Linked DNA regions of Homo sapiens: region 2 is linked to region 1. Evidence: promoter capture Hi-C in 16 types of primary human blood cells and fetal thymus (Javierre and others, 2016). All regions are on one chromosome and are shown on one strand. Each heading gives the region's core, a stretch centred on a gene start or on the middle of the fragment in contact. The rest is flanking DNA. Distances are from core to core; before and after follow the strand shown. Region 1 holds the start of LOC440084 (a long non-coding RNA gene). Region 2 holds the start of YBX3 (Y-box binding protein 3).

Region 1 (5,195 bases), core at 1,263-3,762:
TGGCTACTGTGAACTGCTGGTCCCCAACCTTTTTTGGCACCAGGGACAGCTTCCATGGGACAATTTTTCTCCGGATGGGGTGGTCAGGTGGGGATAGTTTGGGGATGAAACTGTTCCACTTCAGATCATCAGACATTAGATTCTCATAAGGAGCACACAACCTAGATCCCTCACATGCACAGTTCACAATAGGGTTCGCACTGCTATGAGAATCTAAAGCTGCTGCTGATCTGACAGGAGGCGGAGTTCAGTCAGTAATGCTCACTTGCCTGCTTCCCACCTCCCGCTATGCAGCCTGGTTCCTAACAGGATACCTTTAGGTAAAGTTATTGCAGGGGTAGGAGACCCCTGCGGTAAACCAAAAATAGAATTTGAAGGCCCCTGGCAACGATCTGAATGGACTAACTCTTTGGCCAGGGCATGTAAAATTTAACCTGAAAGACTGGCTCAGGCCGTGACGGGAAGTGAGGGTTGGACATGCCTCATTAACATTAACACAGACCTTAAGTCTGATAAGAAATACTTACAATCTATTTTTCTTTAAAGCCTGCTACCTGGAGGCTTCATCTTCATGATAAAACCGTGGTCTCTACAACCCCTCCTGGTAACCCAGACATTCCTTTCGTAACTCTTTCAACCAATTCCCAATCAGAATATGTTTAAACCTACCTATGACCCGGAAGCTCCTCTTCTCTCCTCACCCTTCGAATTGTCCCACCCTTCCAGACCGAACCATGTAAATCTTCCGCATATTGATTGATGTCTCATTCTCCTAAAATTTATAAAAGCAAGCTGTACCCCAACCACCTTGGACACATGCTGTCAGGACCTCCTGAGGCACGTCCTTAACCTTGGCAAAAAAAAAAACTTTCTAAGTTGACTGAGACCTGTCTCAGATATTTTGGGTTCACACTATCTAGATTCTTAGTAGTGTCTCAAAGCCAGGTGCCAAAGTTGGGATATTTATAACATTGAAGGTGGGTCTTTCAAGGTGGGGGCATGAGGTTGATCAGAATTTGGTAAAGATCGTGATGTGGTAATTAAGGATCAGTAAATGCCATGGATTTTGAAGAGTCCTGAGGAGTAAAAGGTTGTTCAGCGCTATCAGCGGGAAAGTTGAACAGTCTGGTTTTCTCAAGGGTTGTTTTCTGGGGAATTTCCTGAAACAAAAAACAGTTACTTGCAATTTTTATCTTTCTGGACGAGAGTTTCCTGGAATAGCTGACTTTTGTTGAAGACAGTGAATAGTACAGTCATTGACAGTAAGCTGTCTGGGTGTCCATGCTTTCCGGTTTTAATACAAATCTGCACTCACATAAAATAGTGATTGCGCATCCGTTGTGACGTGGCGCTTTGGTGTCAGACAGCACCACCTGCTGGCTCATGAGGGTTAAAAACGTTTAGAACTGCAAAAGTTACTTTTAACAGCAGGGCTCTGCTGCCACCTATCGGTTTATTTTTAAACTTTTCAAATGTTTTTCTTTTATTTAATACAGGTCTACTATACTAAGCACCAATCATTCAAAAAAAAACAGGTGCTATAAGTAGAAATGTAGCGCAATATTGTGGAGGCGGACATGAAGGCAGGTGAGGTCCTGGTGAGGTGGTAGAAAGATGATTAAGGACAGGATACAGTGTACAGCCCAAAGGACAGAGTTGTCTATCTACTACGGATGACCAGTGTGGGGGCAGTTAGGGAAGCTTTACAGAGGTAAGGAACCCTAAGGTGTCTCTTGAATAAGAATTGACAAGTAGATATGAGAAGGAGGAGTTAGGAATTCCAGGCAGAAATACAGGCAATGTGAAGATATTGTGCTAGCTGGGTGATTTAGCGTGGCTGAACCACGAGGTGTAGCAACAGGTCCCAAGAGAGACATAGGAGGCCAGATCATGGAAGGCTTCATATGCCTGACTAAGGAGGTTATCCTGGAGGCAATGACTGGGGAATCACTGATGAGTATTAAGCAGGGAAAATACAGGATTAAATCAGTTTACAAACACCACTTCAGCAGAAGCATAGAGAATAGATTGGAAGAAAGTGAAATCGAAATTTGGTACATCAGTTTGGAGTCTTTTTTGTTACAAGTCATATAAACCTATTCTGCTCACTTAAATAAAAAGAGAAATTTATTGGAGATGTATCAAAAATGCGCCAAGTTATCAAGATGCTGGAAGATCAGACTAGGAAATGGGCAGGAGCATAGCTAGTTTGGAGTACGCACAGCAGCCGTCTCATGAATCTGACAGGCTTCTGCTGCAATAGGTCATCGCTGCCACCACTGCCCTGAATTAGTCCTAATCACCCCAGTGGGATCCCAGCTTGGCAGCTTTAGGCCATTTGCCCTTGCCTTGGTAGCCAGGTAGCAGAGTAAGGAATAATGAGCTGCTATGACTTCATAAAATGAGCATTAGTTAGGGTATCTGTCTGGCCACAGTAACAAAGACCAAAATTAACAATGACGCAAACCGAAGTGTATTTCTTCCTCCTACGAAGGCCCAAGTTGGTTTGGCAGCTCTTTGTGAAGCTATTGCTGGCCCAGCCTGCCTCTGCCTTTTCACTCTGCAATACTTCACGGGTTCCGTTGCACAGCCCAAGATGGCTCCTCCGATTCCCACCATCACTTTTCCATTCCAGCTAGCAGGAGCAAGGGGGAAAAATAAGATGGCATGTTCCTTTCTTTTAAGAGCACAACCTGGATGTGGCATATCTCTCTTCTAGTCACATGCCATTGTCCAGAACTTCATGACATAGCCACACCTAGCTACAAGAAAAACTAACAAAGTCAGGATCCTGTGTGGCCATGTGGGCAATTAAAATCCTACTACTAGGAAGAAGGGAAATGGGTATTGGAGGAACAACTAGAGGATCCCCAAAATAGGAAGTAAGAGGCTAGATTCTGGAATGGTCAAAAAATAAAAGATAAACGTCCAGTACAGGTGGTAGACTCTGTGTAAGAGATCAGAGGGATCAGAAATAAGGCAGGGAACAGGAGGATGGGAGCAAATGTTTTGAAATAATATGAAGAACTTAGATTCTTCAGGATTTGGAGCCTGATTTTATATAGGTGATAAGAGAAAAGGAGAGAAAGTTGAATCTCAATTTTCTGACCTTGGTGACGGAATAGATCTTTGTGCCATCCCCAAATAAGAAATATAATGGGAAGCATACATGTTTCAGAAAGGTCTACCTACCATTCCACTGGAGATGCCCAGTAGGTGGCCAAATATATCGTTTTTGACACAAGACAGATGGATTTGGTAATTGTCAGCATACTGGTGGTAGCTGAAGGTGTGGAAGATGATTACTTCACCAGGGAAGAACATGAAGCTTGAGACTAAAACAGGACTGAGGATGGAGGATTAAATTAATTTGTGAGCATACAATCAGAGTTAACCAAACCTGTTAACCAACCCCAGAGCTACAAGGAAAGCTATCAGAGCATAGTGCCAGTGATAACAGCTAGGTGAGCCACCTTCCAGTGTATCCCTGCCTTTTAACTCATCTTTTGTAAGCTAAAACATTGAAAAAGATACTCACCAGAAAGAAATACAAAATTTTCTTTAGATGCTGCCTAGAATGAGTACCTCAGCAGTGGAAATTATCACTGACATGATACAATTCAAGGAGTCAAAAAGGAGGCTGCTTTGGGCCATTCCTTCCCCACTGAAGTGACAAACCATTATTAACAGGAAATTTCTTTGTGTTAAGCATCTTTCACTGGAGGCTCATTCCCACAGAGGACTAACCCATTAAACTTCAAATATCTTGGGTAGTTTTTTTTCCAAATCATTTTTCTATCTGAAAGGAGAGGAAGAGGGAGCTCTGAAGAAGGGTTGAAGGCTACAAATAAAGGCTATCCTGTAGAATTTACTGCTTTACAATCTCTGGTTTATTACAGCTACTTCCATCTAGTAGTACTCTCTGTAGAACCTGAAAAACATAGATACAGTGGTCATTACAACAAAGTAGAACAATTTTGCTTCATAAATGTTTAGTCAATAATAGATGGGATCCTCATGCCCTTCACCATCAAGAAGTTTGCTCAACAGGTCAGTCTTTTTCTGTGAAAATAAAATAAACTGTTTTTATTTTTTAATCCCAGTATCCATCCTTAGATCGTCTCATTTTTTTCTCCTTGTTTTTCTTTTTTCAGCATGTAAAGTTACAGCTTGACCTTAGTGAAGCACTATGGACAGACATGAATAATTTTTAATAATATGAAGAATAATTACTGGGACAGTCAAAGTACCTGCTAATTATTTTTCATATGGCTAAAAATTATTCAGAATATTACTGGGACAGTCAAGTTACCTGCTAAAGTTCTGGGAGAATACAGAACTTCTGTGCTCTCTTCCCCTTTATTCATCACTTTTGAGTTATAATTTATATACAGTAACATTTATGTTTTTTAAGCCAGTCAAATTCAGCAGTGGGAGGACAGTAACTTTATCTTTTTGAAGTGTACACCTTGATGAATTTTGACAATTGTATATAGTCATTTACGCACCATCACCATCAACATATAGGAAATGTTTCACACCCCAAAGGGTTCCCCTGTCTTTAATCCCCACCTCTGACTCCCAACTCCTGTCTCCTGTTCTCTGATTTCTATGTTTACAGTTTTACTTTTTTCAGAATATTACACGAGTGAAGTCATATACTATGTAGTCTTTCATGTCTGATTTCTTTCATTTAATGAAATGCTCTTGAGATTTATCCATGCTGGCATGGGGATCTACAGTCTGTTCCTTTTGTTGTTGAGTAATATGCCACCATGTGGGTATGCCAAAATTTGTTTTTCCTTTCATCAGGTGATGGACATTTGGGTTGTTCCCAGTTTGTGGCTCTTATGGATGAATCAACTATAAACATTTACATACAGGCCTTAGTGTAGACATATATTTTCATTCCTCTTGGGAGTGGAACTGATGGGTCGTATGGGCACTTTATATTTAACTTTTTAGGTAACTAACAAACCGTTTTCCAAAACGGTGCTACTATTTTGAATTCTTACCAGAAATCCATGAGAGATCCATTTCCTTCACCTTCTCACCATCACTTGGTATTGTCTGTCTTTTTAACTTTAGTCATTCTCATGAGTGTTTTATGGTATCTCACTGTGGATTTAAGTTTCATTTCCTCAGTGAATAATAATGTTGAGTATTTTTTCATGCACTTATACACCACCCTTATT
Region 2 (5,782 bases), core at 779-3,278, 760 kb before region 1:
AATTAACCTTCATTTATCTGTTTCCTTCATCTTTAAAGATAGTATCTGCTTTCCCAATCTCAGAACAGTACAGGATTAAGTGAAAAACCGCAAAAGCTTTCTACAAAATAAGGTATCATTAACAATGTTATCCTAACACTGCTTTGGAGAACACAAGGTTTTCTCTCTCAGACATCTGGCAGAAAGTGTTCCAAGAAATATTTGCTAGAAACAACATCACAATGTACTACTGACTAGATTTAAGCAACTTTTAGTCCAGCAAAATCAGGCCTATTTTGTTTCTTAACCTACACAGGTTACAATTAGCATGTTGTTTGGTAGGGACTTAGTAAAAGCCCTAGAAAAAAAAAACAAGAAAATAGTCCTCTCAAGGTGGGGAATATTGAATACACTTCTCTCACATTGCTCCCTCAACTTTCTTCCCAAAGGGGAAGTAGGGCTCAGAGAGATGAGACAAACATGCCCCACCCCAAATAGTGAAGAGGTCTCCGAAGCATCCTACACCATCTGTTAACGTTCCTGTTTATAAGAGCGAACGATATGGACACACACCCTTTAGGGAGGTTATTCACCACCCACCTGCTTTGCAAGCGTTTAAGAACTCACACAGGGGCGTTACTTACGAAAAGAACGCTTGTTATGTGACTAAACCAACAACCATCACAGAAACCCTTTCCATCCACTGCCCCCCCAAATCTCAACATTTCATCTTCCTGTTTCCCTTCCTACGTTACAAGTGCCAAGGTAACAATGTTTTGAACTAACGTCATACCCCCACTTCCGACAAAGTTTTTTCAGCTGCTACACCACGTGCGTTCCCACAGTCCGGGAAGAGGGAAGCGTGTAGCCATTGGTGGACACTGAATGGCTGTTTGCAGCCGTGGGCACAGAGAGGGGGAGGAAGACGTGGGACTAAGACCCAAGTTTCCCGGAGACGATTGCAACATCTCTTTGCTGGCATGTGGCCAACAGGAGCATGGCGTCTTTCCCATGCCCATGTGGGAAGGGCGTCAGGGACAGACACCTGACCCTTCCTGGCAAGAAGCTTTTCTATCTTTCCCTCCCCGTCTCCTTCTAGCGCCCTCCTCTTCCCCAAAGGAAATGCTCTCCTTTCCCAGATCCCAAGCAAGGACCCCAAAGCGCCAGGCCCACGTGTCGGTCCTTCCCCTACATCCATCCCTACCCAAGGTCCCCTCTCCCAGACTGCCTCTCCTTTCTTCTCCAAACGCAGGCATTTTCCACCACGCGAATCCGCAACAGTGCCCGTCTGGGAGACAGAAGTTAAGACCTAAACTTTCTGGCCCGGAACCAGAAGGGAGATGCACACGGCCGCCAGGAGCGCAGGGCGCAGCGCGCTCACCTGGGAGCGCCGGCAAGGGAGGCGGCCAGCGCTGGGGACCCGGAGACCCCTGGGGACCCGGAGATCCCTGGGGACCCTGTGCTGTCAGCGTCTCCAGCCCGGGTGGGAGATGTAGCGCGAGCTGCCCACACGTGCTCCGCGGCCGGCTGGGCCCGCCCCACTACGGCAGCCCCTGCCCTCCCTGGCCTGACTCACCGAGAACTTTTTTCTCCGCGTCTTCGCTGCCGGCGGCGGTGGCTAAAGAGGCGGCGGCCGCGGTGCCCGTGGCTGCGGGGGCCGCGTCCCCACCGGGGTTTCCTGCGACGTGGGCGGCGGGCGCCGGGGCCGCGGCCTGGGGCGCACCGCTGCCCACCGGGCTCTTGGGCGCGGGGTCCTGGGGAGCCGCGGCGGCCGCCTCCGTCGGAGCCTGCGGGAGGGTGGTGGTGGTGGTGGTGGTGGCCTCGCCCGCCTCACTCATGCCTCCTCCTCCTCTGCTCTCGCTCAGGCGCCTCGGTGGCGGTTGGTCGGCGGTTAGCGCGGCTGGTGGTCGCGGCGGCCGGGGCTCGCTCTCGGGGAGGCCGGGGCGGATCTCGCGGCGCAGGCGGCGGCGGCCGAGGTGGGGTCGCGCGGCGGAGGCGGCTCGAGCTTCGTGCTGCGCGCTCTCTCTTGGGCTCCTCGCTCGATCTTACTGCCCCAAAAATGGCCCCGCACAAGTTTTTCTAGGCGGCGCACCGGCCCGGGAGGGAAGGGCGGGCGAGGGGAGAGGGTGGGGAAACTTGGCTCGGGAGTCGGGCCCTGGACTCTCATTAGCATTTAAAGGCGCCCGGTGCGCTTTCTATGGCTCCAATCCGCCGGGACGCGAGCGCGCGGGTCGCGTTGCAGAACCAAGGAAAGCCAGGGTGAACGGGGCGCCCGGGTTGTCTTCTGGAGCGTTCCGAGGAGCCCGCGCTGCTGACCCTTTGTTGGAGCGGGGTGCATTGGCTCTCCTCCCTCAACCCGTCTTGACACCCGCAGCTGACAAGGAGAGGTAAAATAGGGCACCCAAACTACTCTGCGCTTTACCCTCTCAAACACTTGTTTTTAAATCCTTTGCATCTAGTCAGTCATTCAACATGTATCAAGCACCAGCAGCTATTCGTAGCACAGCTGTTAAGACCTGGAATAATAAAACCTTAAGACTATTTGGCAACTTACTCCTGAAAGGTAATATACGGATAATTTCATCTGTAACACGCAGATGAGGAAATTGACCTCACAGATTTAATGTAAATTCAGAGTTTACACCAATTTAACCGCAACAAATAAGGAGCTGTCAATATATATTTAATAAGGAACACACACAAAAAAAGCTGAATAAATCCACTTCCTACCTTCTGCTCCAGTTGCCTCTGCCAGCTGGTGAAAGCTTAAGGAACTGAGCCCTCTTAGCCTCGAGGATGAGAGGTATAGAGAAACAGATCACCCAATAAACATTATTCCCAAGTTGAAGAGCCCACATGCCCTTTGAGAATGGGCTGGATGGTAGTAAACACAGGGCCAGAGGGTCTGGGATCTGTACCCAAAGACTGTCTGGAATACAGGACTATTTGGCCCCTAGGGTTCAGACAGACTAGGTATAAATTCTGGCTTTGTTTTTTATTAACCAGGTTAACTTGGGACAGAGATTCAATGTCCCAGAGTCGGTTTCCTGCTTTATGAGAGGTTCTCAAAGGTGACATGAAAAGTAGATGAGATTATCATGTGTCACTCCAGTGTCCGGTCCACCTAAAGCTCCTTTGTTTTGTTTGTTTTTTAAGTTATTGCCTGTTCCCTCAAACAATTTACCAAATTTTTTTCCAGGAATATGTCTGTAATGTCGATGTCTACCTTAACATCAGTAGGGTAACTATCAAGTGTAATTCATCTTTGTATCTCCACTGGTTAGTACAGTACGTAGCACAGAGTTTGGACATAGTGAATGTTTACAAAATGAAAACAGACCAAATTCTTCCAAACTCAATTACTTATCTGCACATTTGCTATCAATTATTATGAAACTTTCCTGAATTCTTACTTTCTTATTTCATCCACAAAAAACACAAAGAAAATAAGTTATTTGAAAAAATAGCAAATTATGTAATTTTGAGCTTTTCTATGTAATTCATCAATATTTAAAAAATTACAAACTCTTAAATGTTAGATTCATATTTTAGTTTGACTTCAGTATGGAGCATACAGTGATGTTATATAAATGTAGATGCTTTTAAAATGCTGGTCTAATTCTAAGAATGATTAAATTATTTCTTCATGTGAAAGATTATGGTCTTAATTACAATTAAATTATAAACATGATTTATTCTGGTGAGGACTGACCATTGACTTTCTTATTCAGCAAAATGATTATCATTGCTATTTACCTTTCAGAATTACATTACAAGAAAAAAAAGTAAGGAGATTGAACTCTTCAAACCGATCCAACAGTAAAGCCTTTTAAAAAAATTCATCCTTGGAAGTAATTCATAACTAACAGGTGTGATCTCCAACCTCTGGAAGACCCTAAAATAATTACAGATGCACCCTGGGATTTCCTAGAATTTGTGCTGGACTGGCTTCCAAAACTACTCATCATTGTCATCCAAACAAAGCAGTGAGCAGCTGGAAGTTGTTGGTATTGTACTAAATAAATCTAAAGAAAATTAGAACAAATATGATCTATGTTTTAATAATCATAAGTAGGAAGCAACTTGGATACAGATACACATAAATTTATCCATTCCTTCATTCACTAATTCATACACTCATATTTGCTAAGCAAATGCTATGTCCCGGACAAAGTACACCATTGTGAGTATCCAATGTTGACCAAAATGGAGCCGGTTGTAAGGTCTTTTGATATGATGTTAAAATTATTTTTCACTATCAACATTTCTATTGTAAGACAATATCATCATTTACTAAGTTTAAGAGTAAGTCAACAAAGAATTATAATCTAATTGCTGACAGCAGTCATTTTTAAGCAATTATTGGTTTGATCATAAAAACAAATGCCACTCTGTTCCTAGTATGGAGGAAGTTAAAGCTCTCACAACTGTTGGAAGGGCTGAAGGAGGGAAACTCAGAGAAGCTCCACTGAAGATCTCAGCCTCCAGTCCCCAAGACAGTGGTTCTCAGGAGTTCTCCTGAAGCCACTGGAGCCACAAGATCTTTCGGAAGTTCTCAGCAATTCAGGGCTGGATTCAGGTTTTGTGATGCTTAAAACTAATACAATTTAGAGAGCCCTTTTTGAGATAAAATAAAGTTATGAATACTAAAATGCTAGGACTGCTCCCAGAGTCTTCGAAAGGGTCCGTGCAAGACAGGAGCCCTGAAATTTAAACTTCATTAGCTTTACTCCTGCACCTGCTATCTCAGTCAGCAACACCGATGCAGTAAGTCCTCAAGAAGTTCATCTGGAAGCAGCTTTGATGCCGATGCATCTTTCTATAACTGACTCTGGTATATAATGGTCTTCTCTTCTTCCTTCTAAACTTTGAGCGAAAGGCTCTCATTGTTAGATTCCAACTTGGAAATATACAGGCCGGGAGGGAGATTCTGGGAAATGTAGTCTCTGCATTTGAAGAAGCTAAAGTTGATGCTAAATTGACAGGAGGCTATCCAGCATATCACCCTAAGGAAGAAAATGCAATTAATTGACTAAGGAGATTGAGGAGAATTCAAGTTATTCAAGGGACTGGAGCTTAAAATAAGGAAGCTTTGTGTATTAGCATATTTGAAACTGGAAAACAGTGAAGTATTAATCTCAACTTAATTGATACAAAAAAGAACATGAGGGAAATGGTCAGTTTGGAACAAAAAAGTGCAAGAATAAGAGAGTAAAGGTATTTCAGGATGTCTCCAGCAATGTTCAGGGGGAGAGTGGACCTTGGTTATCACGCTCTGTTTGGCACTCAGTAGTAATGCATTCAGCACATTTATTAATCATTGCAATTTGGTGCTAAGAACATCATGCAAAACAGGCAGGAATGCCCCTGTATTGAATGAATTAATGGTATAGACCCATACTGTCCCATTGGAAATATAATTTGAGCCCCAAATGTGAACCAAATATTTAATTTTAAATTTTCAAGCAGCCACAATAAAACAGTAAAAAACAGATGAAATTAATTTTAATAGATTTTACCTAACTTAATCAATATAAAATATATATTATTTCCACATTTAATCAAGGGTAAAACCATGAATGATGTATTCTACATTCCTCTTTTTTTTTTTTTTTGGTACTATCTTCAAAGTGTGTATCTTACACTTCTAAGACATCTCAATTTGAACTCACATTTAAAGAGTTCGGTGTGGCTGATGACTACCATATTGAGTAGCACAAGCCTTCTAGACAATTAGAAGTTTAACCTGAATAATTCTTCAGGATTCCATTGGGAAAAAGTCCTGGGCCTGAAAGCTGGACCA

The links. The method cuts DNA at HindIII sites, captures the fragments that hold promoters and counts their contacts. A CHiCAGO score of 5 or more calls a contact.
Region 2: the fragment with the promoter of YBX3 here is called in contact with a fragment that was not itself captured in region 1 in 6 of 17 cell types (fetal thymus, total CD4 T cells, M1 macrophages and 3 more); the score reaches 7.2 in fetal thymus.

Annotation. Positions count from the first base shown.
Region 1 is chr12:11,485,380-11,490,574 of GRCh38, forward strand. LOC440084 (a long non-coding RNA gene) reads right to left here and starts at 1,299. Exons shown (of 5, transcript NR_148969.1): 1 at 1,185-1,299; 2 at 670-772. The HindIII fragment of the contact is 1,627 bases long and covers 1,700-3,326 here.
Region 2 is chr12:10,721,295-10,727,076 of GRCh38, forward strand. YBX3 (Y-box binding protein 3) reads right to left here and starts at 2,029. Exons shown (of 10, transcript NM_003651.5): 1 at 1,556-2,029. The coding sequence starts at 1,817. LOC124902876 reads left to right here and starts at 1,758. Exons shown (of 2, transcript XM_047429946.1): 1 at 1,758-2,366; 2 at 3,743-4,024. The coding sequence starts at 1,816. The coding sequence ends at 3,812. It overlaps LOC112268104 (a long non-coding RNA gene), which reads right to left. Exons shown (of 4, transcript XR_002957443.2): 4 at 4,898-4,985. RefSeq lists silencers at 1,275-1,674, 1,805-1,904, 1,925-2,144. The HindIII fragment of the contact is 1,699 bases long and covers 1,044-2,742 here.